Linked DNA regions of Homo sapiens: region 2 is linked to region 1. The links are contacts of gene promoters, found by promoter capture Hi-C in human tissues and cell types (Jung and others, 2019). All regions are on one chromosome and are shown on one strand. Each heading gives the region's core, a stretch centred on a gene start or on the middle of the fragment in contact. The rest is flanking DNA. Distances are from core to core; before and after follow the strand shown. Region 1 holds the start of TTLL4 (tubulin tyrosine ligase like 4). Region 2 holds the start of CYP27A1 (cytochrome P450 family 27 subfamily A member 1).

Region 1 (5,206 bases), core at 862-3,361:
AGAATATCTTAACAAAGAATACAGTTTACACGAATGGGATTGTGTATTGGCAAGCCTTCTGGGTTGGGAGGTAACTTAAATCACTAAAGGAGGTGTTCCTGAAAATAAATATTTCCAAAGTAGTCCTTATTTGTATCTGAGGACATTTTTACACTCAGGCCAATACACCATATTAAAATTTGGGAAGTGTGAGGGATTTGCCACACACAGCCTCCTACCCTTTTTTTGTAAGGGAAGTTTTAGAAAAAGAGTTCATTGGGGCCGGGCGCGGTGGCTCACACCTGTAATCCCAACATTTTGGGAGGCCGAGGCGGGTGAATCACGAGGTCAGGAGTTTGAGACCAGCCTGGCCAAGATGGTGAAACCCCGTCTCTACTAAAAAATACAAAAAATTAACCGAGCGTGGCAGCATGCGCCTCTAATCCCAGCTACTCCGGAGAATGAGGTAGGAGAATCGCTTGAACCCAGGAGGTGGAAGTTGCAGTGAGCCAAGATCGTGCCATTGCACTCCAGCCTGGGTGACGGAGCAAGACTCTGTCTCAAAAAAAAAAAAAAAAGTTCACTGGGAAGCTGAGGATCTGGAAATGTATTCATGTTAAGCTAGACGTGCAAGTGTATCCCTTGGAAGTCTACAACCCTGATTACTCCAGCTTGAAAACCACTGCTCCAGGGATATAGTTCTAACTCAGCAAAACATCCAAGGCCCTTTGTGATCTAACCCCTATTAACTTCACTCTTTCTATTTGTTACTGGATGGCTCCCTCCAAATCTAGCCCAGGTCTGTCAAACTGTTTCCAGTTCTCTTTTCAGGACTTGCTGTCCCTTTCCTAAAGCCACTGTGTATCTGGAATGTCCTCCCACCTCTCTATTCGCAGAAAACACTTGATAATTTTTCAAGGATTGATTCAGTCCAATATAAGTAGCTGCTAACTTTCTGAGCACAAAGTGGGTGGTTTAAATGCAAACAGTGTCTCAGTATTCAGTGCAAGAAACAGAAGGATGGGATGGAACACTGTCCCAAAGGGTCCCCCAAATGCTAAATCAACAGGTGCTGCAGTTAAAGAATAGGTGATTTGTAGTATCTGAGAAAGCAAAGAAGATTTCATCAAGGAAGGATTAAAATATTTCCGAGATCCAGAATGGGAATGTGAAGACCAGGAGGAATGGCAATAATGTCGTTTTCTAAGTAAGTCCGGATTAAGTATTTCCTGTTCTATCACAGCACACACCACAGTATGGCAAATGCTCGTTTACTTGATTAATAATCTCCTAGACTGTAAATTCCGTGAAAACATGCTTGTCCTATTAGCCACTCTATCCCCTCAATCCCTCCCATTGTACCCAGGCTCATTAAATATTTGTCAATGTTTACTAAAAATTGTTTAGTGAATGATTAAATAAAGGAATTGATGAATGAAGAATTAAATTCCACAGGATCTCAGATCCTGTTTGAATCTGTGGAGTTTAGGAACGTATTCTTCTACAGATACTGAGGATGGAGAAGTGAAAAAGCAGATATCCATGTTAAATTCGGCCCTGGAGCCTGCGAGGAGCTTGGGCTCACACCCAGAGGGAATTTAAACCTCAGCGCGGCAGGACAGAGGAAGCTCGGAGGCCATAACTAGGGGATGAGGCAGTGTTCGGGCACCCGGAGGCGAGGCCGACTAAGTTCGCGGGGCGTGGCGGAGAGGAGAAGGGCTCCGAGGAGGCGCGAAGTCCCGGCCGGGTAGGAGGCCGCGGCTCCCTGGCCTCCCGGGGGATGAGAGGTGGCGGGAGGAAGCGGGGCTAGGGTGAGAGTGGCCGGAGGGCTGGGGACCCGCGCGAAAGGACTCAGGTAGAGGGAGGTCGGGAGCGTGGGACCGGCGGAGTGTCTGGGGTCGGCTCCCCTGGCTCCGCAGCCGCACTCACCTAGGGGATCCAGCTTCGCCCCGGCTCGGCACCGGCTCCACGCTACTTCCTCCCTCGGCCTGCTGGGCTACCCGGCAGCCTCAGGCGCCCCTAGCAACCACGCACCGCCACGCGTGACAAGCGCACTCGGCCGCCAGCGCCGCTGCCGCCTGCCACACACCGCGCGCGCCCCCAGCGGACAGACCGAGAGTCTGGAAGAAGAGGGCGGGAGGCAAGCGCGGGGAATCTCGGGGGTTCTGGGGCCTGTAGGGGCGGGTCGTCACCTGACTCGCGCACGCGCAGTCCCTTCAGTGCGGTGGGATCCGGCGAGCGGAATTCTGGGAGATGTAGTCCCGTGGTTAAAGCTCTGAAAGGCTCCATTCGGAGCATCCAGGACTCTCTCTTTCTACTCTAATTCCACCTACTCCCTATGGACTGTTTTCTTTTTTAGAGACAGAATCTCGCTCTGTCGCCCAGGCTGGAGTGCAGCGACGTGATCATAGCTCACTGCGAACTTGAACTCCTGCTCAAGCGATCCGCCCGCCCCCAGCCTTCCGAGTAGCTGGGACTACAGGCACGCCACCATGCTGGGCTATTTTTAAATTTTTTTTCTCAGGACAGGGTCTCACTATGTTACCCAGACTGGTCTTAAACTCTTGGCCTCAAGTGATCCTCCTGCATCAGCCTCCTGGTCGCTGGGATTACAACGGGAGCCCCCACGCCTGGCCTGGACTCTTTGGCCTTGCCTCAATTGAAAATCAAAGGGCCCAGGCTCAGTTGAAGGATTTCTAGAAAAAGCCTTTGAGTTTGACCGCAGGAAAGGGGAGATTGCCCGATTCACTCTGCCTCCCTCTAACCCATCCTTCCCTAACCCCAACCCACCCAGCGGGGCAAAATTAAAACCACCTGCCTGCTTTATGGGCTTCAAGTGTGAACGTTAGGAAATACTGACTCAATTCCTTATCTCGTTAGCTCCCCAGGCAAGCCAGATCGCGCTCCTGCCTCAGATGTCCGTAGACCTGAGAGATTTGGAGATCTAAGAAAGCTGGAAGATGAAAGGATCTTTCCTAGGCAATTGGCTACAGAAATAAAGGGGACAAAGATAAAACTAATCTGATGAAAACAGTCTGGACCAGAGGAAGGATCTCAATAAATAACTTATTTAGTCAACAGTCGTTGATGGATGCTAAAAGTATTAGATAATTTATGGGAGAATTTTACACTGAAGGATGTACACTGAAGATAACCTACATGTACTAATCAATCTTAGATCACGAAACATGGGACAGCTGAGCATTGTTTCTTGATGTGATGCAATTGAACAGAAATATTTATGAAGTATAGCGTATTTTTGTAAAAAAAAAAGTTGAGTGACTCTAATCAAGTTTTGGCTGTAATTTCCAGTTAACAAGAAATAAAGAGAAACAACTGTATAACACTACAAGAAAGCAATCAAACAAATCCAGAATGTGAGCCAATGTACAGAATAAATGACCTCTTCTTCCTTCAACAATTTTAGGGTATAAAAATGAGGAGAGATGTTTTAGATTATAAGAGATTTAAGAAATATATTCAAATGTTGGCCAGGTACAGTGGCTCACACTTGTAATCCCAACACTCTGAGGATCACTTGAGGTCAGGAGTTCAAGACCAGCCTGGGCAACATGGTGAAACCCCGTCTCCAACAAAAAATACAAAAATTAGCCAGGCATGGTGGTGCACACCTGTAGCCCCCAGCTACTCAGGAGGCTGAGACAGGAGAATCGCTTGAACCCAGGAGACAGAAGTTGCAGTGAGCCAAGATTGTGCCACTGCATTCCACCCTGGGCAACAGAGCAAGACTCCCTCTTGAGAAAAAAAAAAGAAATATATTCAAATGCAATGAGTGCAGCTTGTTTGGATCCTGATTCAAACAAACTGTAAAATGACATTTTTGAGACTGAGAAATAAAAATTTTAAGTACCACCCCAACCAACTTAATGGACCCCATCGTGGCTAAGGGGACACTAGAGCAACCTTAAAAACTGAGTTCCCGGCCGGGCGCAGTGGCTTACGCCTGTAATCCCAGCACTTTGAGAGGCCAAGGCGGGCGGATCACGAGGTCAGGAGATCGAGACCATCCTGGCTAACACGGTGAAACCCCACCTGTACTAAAAATACAAAAAATTAGCTAGGCGTGGTGACGGGCGCCTGTAGTCCCAGCTACTAGGGAGGCTGAGGCAGGAGAATGGCGTGAACCCGGGAGGCAGAGCTTGCAGTGAGCCAAGATCGCACCACTGCACTCCAGCCTGGGCAACAAAGCAAGACTCTTTGAAAAAAAAAAAAAAGAAAGAAAAAAAAAACTGAATTCCTGGCTATGATGAGATGGGAAGTCCAACACACCTCAATATGCCCCTTCCTTATTAACCTTTAAACAGAATTCTTTCCTAAGGAGTAAGCAGAAACCAGCTCTAGAAATCAAGAAAGGGATGATTAATCCTTCATTGGTTTTAGAGGCCAGAACCAGACTCCCTACTCTTTGCACTTTCCTTTTCTTTTCTTTTCTTTTTTTTTTTTTTTTTTTTTGAGAAGGGATCTCACTATGTCACATAGGCTGGAGTGCAGTGGCATGAACACAGCTCACTGCAGCCTCAAACTCCTGGGCTGAAGCAGTCCTCCACTTGAGCCTCCCAAGTAGCTGAGACCACAGGCACAAACCACCACACCTGGCTAATTTCTAAATTTTTTGTAGAGACAAGGTCTTGCTATGTTGCCCAGACTGACTTCGCAGTTTCAAAATGACAGTTCATCAGTTTCACTATGCATCTCTTCCTAAAACTGACCATCATCTCCAGATGGGTTTTGGAGAGGATGCACAATGAGGGTTTTCATTTCCTGCGCTTTACCTTTTGACATCAGAGGGCTGAAAACTCCACCCTAGGATCATGCGAATGCAGCCGTTTTTTGCATATGCAACCCATGAAGAGGCATGAAGCTCAATTGTGCATGCACTTGTTTCTTTCATTATCATGACTCCTCCTATAGCTTATTAAATATGTGTATTTAGCCACCCCACTCTGTGTAAATTCCTGTTCCCTTTATCCCTCCCTCAAAGTACTTGCTTTCAGCTTCTGCCAGAAACTACACTTCCCAGCCTGTCAGAATGGCCACCTTGCAGGCTGCAACCCTTTATAAGAAGTAAAGCTCTCCTTTTCAAATTTATGAGCCCGAGATTCTTTGTTGTCAAGACTATGGAAAAATCTGAATAAGGATTGGGAATACTAAGAACATAGCTGATGTGCTAGGCCCAATGGCTCAAGTCTGTACTCCCAGCTATTCG
Region 2 (5,206 bases), core at 893-3,392, 71 kb before region 1:
TTTTAAAGTTCCAACAGCTTAGGTTTTGAATTATTTATTTTCACATCCCCAAGTCTCACAAACATGAGCCCAACAGGGAAGATTGCAGGAGAGACAGCAGCCACCAGGACAGGGCAGAGGATGCAGCCCTGGTTGTAGTCAGTTTTGCCCTTCGTTGCCCTCAGAGTCATCTTCTCCCTCATCCTCAACCTCCATTCCAGTTTTCTCTGGAGTGTGGCTCAGATCTGCCTCTCCATCCTGGATCCTGCCACGCCTGAGCCTTCATCACCTTAGACCCTCTGCACCTCTCCTACTACACACACCACAGCCTGGACAGTGTTCCATGCAGGCCGTCTTCACCCCATGCTTGCTCAAGAGCTCACCATGGCCCCTCAGAGGAACCAGGGCCCTTATCTTGATCTTCAAGGCTGTCCTCAAAGGCCAGTCCTGTCCCCAGTCCCCACAGCTCCTCCTTACTTTTGACTCCTTCCCAGCACAGACACATGACCAGCAGATGGTTGGCTACCCCAGCCCAGGACCAGCCTACTCCTATCAGTCCCTGACAACCAAGTGTCCTTGTGGAGGCACCCCGAATCGAAGCCCCCTCCCTCTTCCCCAACCTTAGAACAGCTTCTCCCCCAGAGTTCTCTCTGTGAAGTTAACTTTTTGTTGCTTTATCTCTTTGTCCTCCATCTTCTTCAGAGGAGCATTTAAGCCCCATGAGGGCAGAAGCCTCATCTCACTGAATCCCAGTACTTGGAACCATGCCTAGAACATGGTAGGTGCATTCATATTTGTTGATAGTCATTAGGAAGATAGATCCTGTATGAACCCCTTTGGTTCATTCCCTAAATCCTCTCCAACATTGGTCAGTGTTGGGTTTTCCGGTCTCTGTCAGTGAGCAGTGAGCTGTTCATCCCTGCCTCATTTCTGTGTTCTGCTGTATAAAACTTTCTTATTAGACATTGGTTTTCTCCCCCAACACCACTAACCTGAACACAGACTACAGGCTGATTTCTTTTTTCTTTTTTTCTTTTTTTTTTTTTTTTTTTGAGACAGAGTTTCGCTCTTGTTGCCCAGACTGGAGTGCAATGGCGTAATCTTGGCTCACCACAACCTCTACCTCCCTGGTTCAAGCGATTCTCCTACCTCAGCCTCCCTAGTAGCTGGGATTACAGGCATGTGCCACCATGCCCGGCTAATGTTTGTATTTTTAGTAGAGATGGGGTTTCACCATGTTGGCCAGGCTGGTCTCAAACTCCTGACTTCAGGTAATCTGCCCACCTCAGCCTCCCAAGGTGCTGAGATTACAGGTGTGAGCCACTGCACCCGGCCTCAGACTGATTTCTTAATAACAAAAAGTACCTTTTCCTTACTGTCTGTGAGTTTGCTTCCACGATCTGAGATGCAGCATTGTGTTTTCCCCTAAGAGGAAATTTACCTTGCAAATAACCAAGAGGTTTCTATAATCCTCCTGAAGTTATTTCGTTTGGAAGAAGTCTGTGGTAGCCAATATCAGCCCAGAATTAGTGATTCCATAATATCCGTTAGCTTACACATTTGCCTCTGCCACTCTCTTCCCAAGACAGCTCCCTCCTCAACCTCTGCTCACTGTAAGTCCGGCGTCCAGATCCCCCCCTTACTGGTGCCGTCCTGATTTAAGCCCTTCCTCGTCCTGTTTATCTCAGCTCAAAGGGCTCTGTCTGCACTTTGCCCATTCTCCCTACTGATTTCCAGTTTATGACCATAGCCTCAGTGGGTCCCCAGCTGAGTTCCTGCAGCCTTCACTTTCTGTCCAACGTCTTCTCACCTCTAGCCTCTCTGTTCCGGTGCCCACTCCCATCCCCAGGACGCGATGCCCCCGCGGGTTACCTGTAACTGGTGCAGTTGCAGGGCATAGCCTTGAACGAACAGCTGAAAGAAGAAGCGCAGCTGTCCTAGACGTGGAATCTCCTCTAAGCTCCGTTGCCGCCGCCGGACACCAGGCCCGGCTCCGGGAGCTCCGGTGGCCTTGTCCGAGGGGAGGGCGGCAGGGATCGCGGCCTTGGCTCTGGCCCCGTGGGGGCAGAGGCCACGGCCGGCCCCTCGCAGCGCCCACCTCAGCCTCGCGCAGCCCAGCGCAGCCATGGGTTGTGCTCGCGCGCCTGCACCTTTGGGTCGAGTGCTGAGTCCCCGGACCCGCCCAGACAGCAGTGCAGGGCGGGTTCAAAGCCGGGCGCTGGGGAGGGCCGAGCAAAGGCCAGCTAGACCCCTTCCCGCTCGCTCCCTCGCTCCTCCCAGCGACGCGGGAGCTGCAGGAGAGGGACGCGGTGACTCGGGGATATCCACGGCGCCCCGACCAAGGCCTCCGCCACGACTCCTCACCCCGCGCCCCCGAGGCCTCTCAAATAACTTTTCGCTTGGTCTGAACTCTGGGCGGGGGTGCAGCGAGATTCTTTCGAAATCGGGAAGCCCCACACCGGGATAGGTCCTCGCCCGGTCGCGGTTCCCCACCCAAGGCGACCCTCGCGTCCTGGAGGGAACGGGAACCGGCCGTGGCTAAGCTGCCCTCGGCTTCTCCCAATGGCCTTCCGGATTGATCCCGGAGTCAGTTCGGAGCGAGGGGGGCCAGTCATCTGATCCCTGGAGGGGGGCCGCTGAACAAAGAAATCTAAATATTCGTGTTTTGTTGTTTTTTTTTTTAATTCAATTCTCCCTCCACGCACCTCCCTGCCGCGTCTGCCAAGGCAGGATATTTCAAACTGCAGGTTGAGACCAGATTTCGTAGATGATGGCCAGAATTATTTTTAATAAAATGGAAAGAGTAACATAGTACGGAAAACGTACAGCAAGAAGAAAAAAAAAGTATTGTCTTATGAATCCTATGTTTCATGTATATTCAAAGTATAGTTGTCAAAAAGTTTAAAAACATAACTCACGCAAGTATAAAATAAATACAGGGTCAAAGATCACATTCAAGCCAGGAATGAAGGACCCAGCAGGATGGTACAGCTGGTTCTAACAGCATTTGAAAAATTGGTGATTTACAGGCAGCCAGAGAAGAAAGGGCATATTAAGTTCAATTAGGCTGACAGCTGAGTTGCTAGGTGTGGCTTTCTACTTATTTATTCTAGGACTCCTAGTTTCTTGACTCTGTGACTGGATGTCTTTGATCAGTCTGGGGAGTTTCTCAGATATTATCTGTTCAAATATTGCTCCTCCCCATTTTTTTCTCCTTTCCCGGGACTTCAAACTGCTATATGTATGTTAGCTCTCCCTGTATCCTTCCTCTCTCTTATCCTGTCTTGTGTATTTTTGTTCCTTTGTGTCATATAGTTTGTTAATTCTCTCCTCCCCACTCCCCAGAGTCTCACCCTGTCGTCCAGGCTGGAGTGCAGTGGTGCAATCCTGGCTCGCTGCAACCTCCGCCTCCCGGTTCAAGCAATTCTCCGGTCTCAGCCTCCAGAGTAGCTGGAATTAGAGGTGCCCGCCACCACGCCCGGCTAATTTTTGTATTTTTAGTAGAGATAGGGTTTTGCCATGTTGGCCAGGCTGGTCTCAAACTCCTGACCTCAGATGATCTACCTACCTCGGCCTCCCAAAGTGCTGGAATTACAGGTGTGAGCCACAGCACCCAACCTAGACCATATTTTTCATTTGGTTTTTGGACAGGAAGGACAGGAGGCCATGCTTTAAAAACGTGGTGGCACACGTGATCCCAGCTACTTGGGGAGACTGAGGCAGGAGAATCGCTTGAACCCGGGAGGCGGAGATTGCAGTGAGCTGAGATTGTGCCATGCACTCCAACCTGGACAACAGAGTGAGACTCCATCTCAAAAAAAAAAAATTATATATATATATATATATATATGATCTAGTTCAAGACTTAGGAGCCATTAACGAGGTCATAATTCTCTTACATCCTATAGTGCCAAATCCTTATACTATACTTAACCAAATACCAGAAAACACCAATTAGTTCACAGTGTTAGATCATAAGAATGCTTTCTTTTGTATTCCTTTGCACTTCGACTCTCAGAACTTATTTCCTTTCAAGTAGACTAATCCTGAAACTACTATTACCCAATGGTACACCAGGACAATACTGCCTCATGACTTTAGGGATAGCCCTTGCTTGTTCAAAAATGCCTTGACACAAAAGTTAAGAAAGCCAGAGCTAAAAAGGAGAGCCACACTCCAGTATGTAAATAACATCTTTGTATACAGCCCCACTAAAGAAGACTCAAATAAAAATGCCATTCAAGTCCTAAACTTCCTTAAAAAAAATCAGTTCTCTCCATCCAAGCCCAAATTTCTCTACCAAAAGTGAAATACCTGTAGTATATTCTAAACTCAGGAAACTGGACCTTGTCCATCAAACAAAAGTTTACTTAGAAGTAAAACCTCTATAAACAACAACAACAACAAAAAAAAAACCTAAGAACTTTCCTGGGTATAGCAGGATTTTGCAGAATTGCTAAGCCATTGTATGAGGCCCTAACAGGGCCAAAACATAAGCCATTCAAATGATCAAAAAGCAGAAGGCTTTATCTTCTAGCTAAACAAAGGGGTTTACACAGTAATAAACCACACCTGTTCTTTATATTAACAACTCAGGATTAATTAGACTGCCAGCTCAAAAGATTTACCAACACGCGGCCGGGCATGGTGGCTCAAGCCTGTAATCCCAGCACTTTGGGAGGCCGAGGAGGGCGGATCACGAGGTCGGGAGATCGAGACCATCCTGGCTAACACGGTGAAACCCTGTCTCTATTAAAAATACAAAAAATTAGCCGGGCGTGGTGGCGGGCGCCTGTGGTCCCAGCTACTCGGGAGGCTGAGGCAGGAGAATGGCGTGAACCTGGGAGGCGGAACTTGCAGTGAGCCGAGATCACGCCACTGCACTCCAGCCTGGGTGACAGAGCAAGACTCCGTCTCAAACAAACAAACAAAAAGATTTACCAACATGCTACCTGGCTACATAATTTCAATAAGCACACTGCTCAAACCATCTGGGACCTCATCAAAAAAATACCTACTAAGTGTGACACAGTTCCTACCTTTCCTGGAACCTTTAATAACTCTAATTTCTACTAATCTTTGGTCCTTGCTTGTTTAACCTCCTTATAAAGTTTGTGTCTTCTGGATTATGGCAGTTCCATGTCAAAATAATGGTCATACAAAAATTCCAACCAATCCCTGCCTCGGATTCAGACTCTCCTAATAACCCACCCTTGGGACCCTTAAA

The links. Contacts are between HindIII fragments. The study calls those that stand out against the background at their distance.
Region 2: a contact is called between the fragment with the promoter of CYP27A1 here and the fragment with the promoter of TTLL4 in region 1, in 1 of the 25 tissues and cell types used here (psoas muscle).

Annotation. Positions count from the first base shown.
Region 1 is chr2:218,707,740-218,712,945 of GRCh38, reverse strand. It overlaps TTLL4 (tubulin tyrosine ligase like 4), which reads right to left and starts at 2,111. Exons shown (of 20, transcript NM_014640.5): 1 at 1,909-2,111. It overlaps LOC124907983 (a long non-coding RNA gene), which reads left to right and starts at 1,462. Exons shown (of 2, transcript XR_007088089.1): 1 at 1,462-1,726; 2 at 2,860-3,344. RefSeq lists silencers at 1,720-1,769, 1,780-1,829 and enhancers at 2,210-2,309, 4,535-4,584. The HindIII fragment of the contact is 14,281 bases long and covers 1-5,206 here.
Region 2 is chr2:218,779,083-218,784,288 of GRCh38, reverse strand. It overlaps CYP27A1 (cytochrome P450 family 27 subfamily A member 1), which reads right to left and starts at 2,142. Exons shown (of 9, transcript NM_000784.4): 1 at 1,852-2,142. The coding sequence starts at 2,106. The HindIII fragment of the contact is 16,207 bases long and covers 1-5,206 here.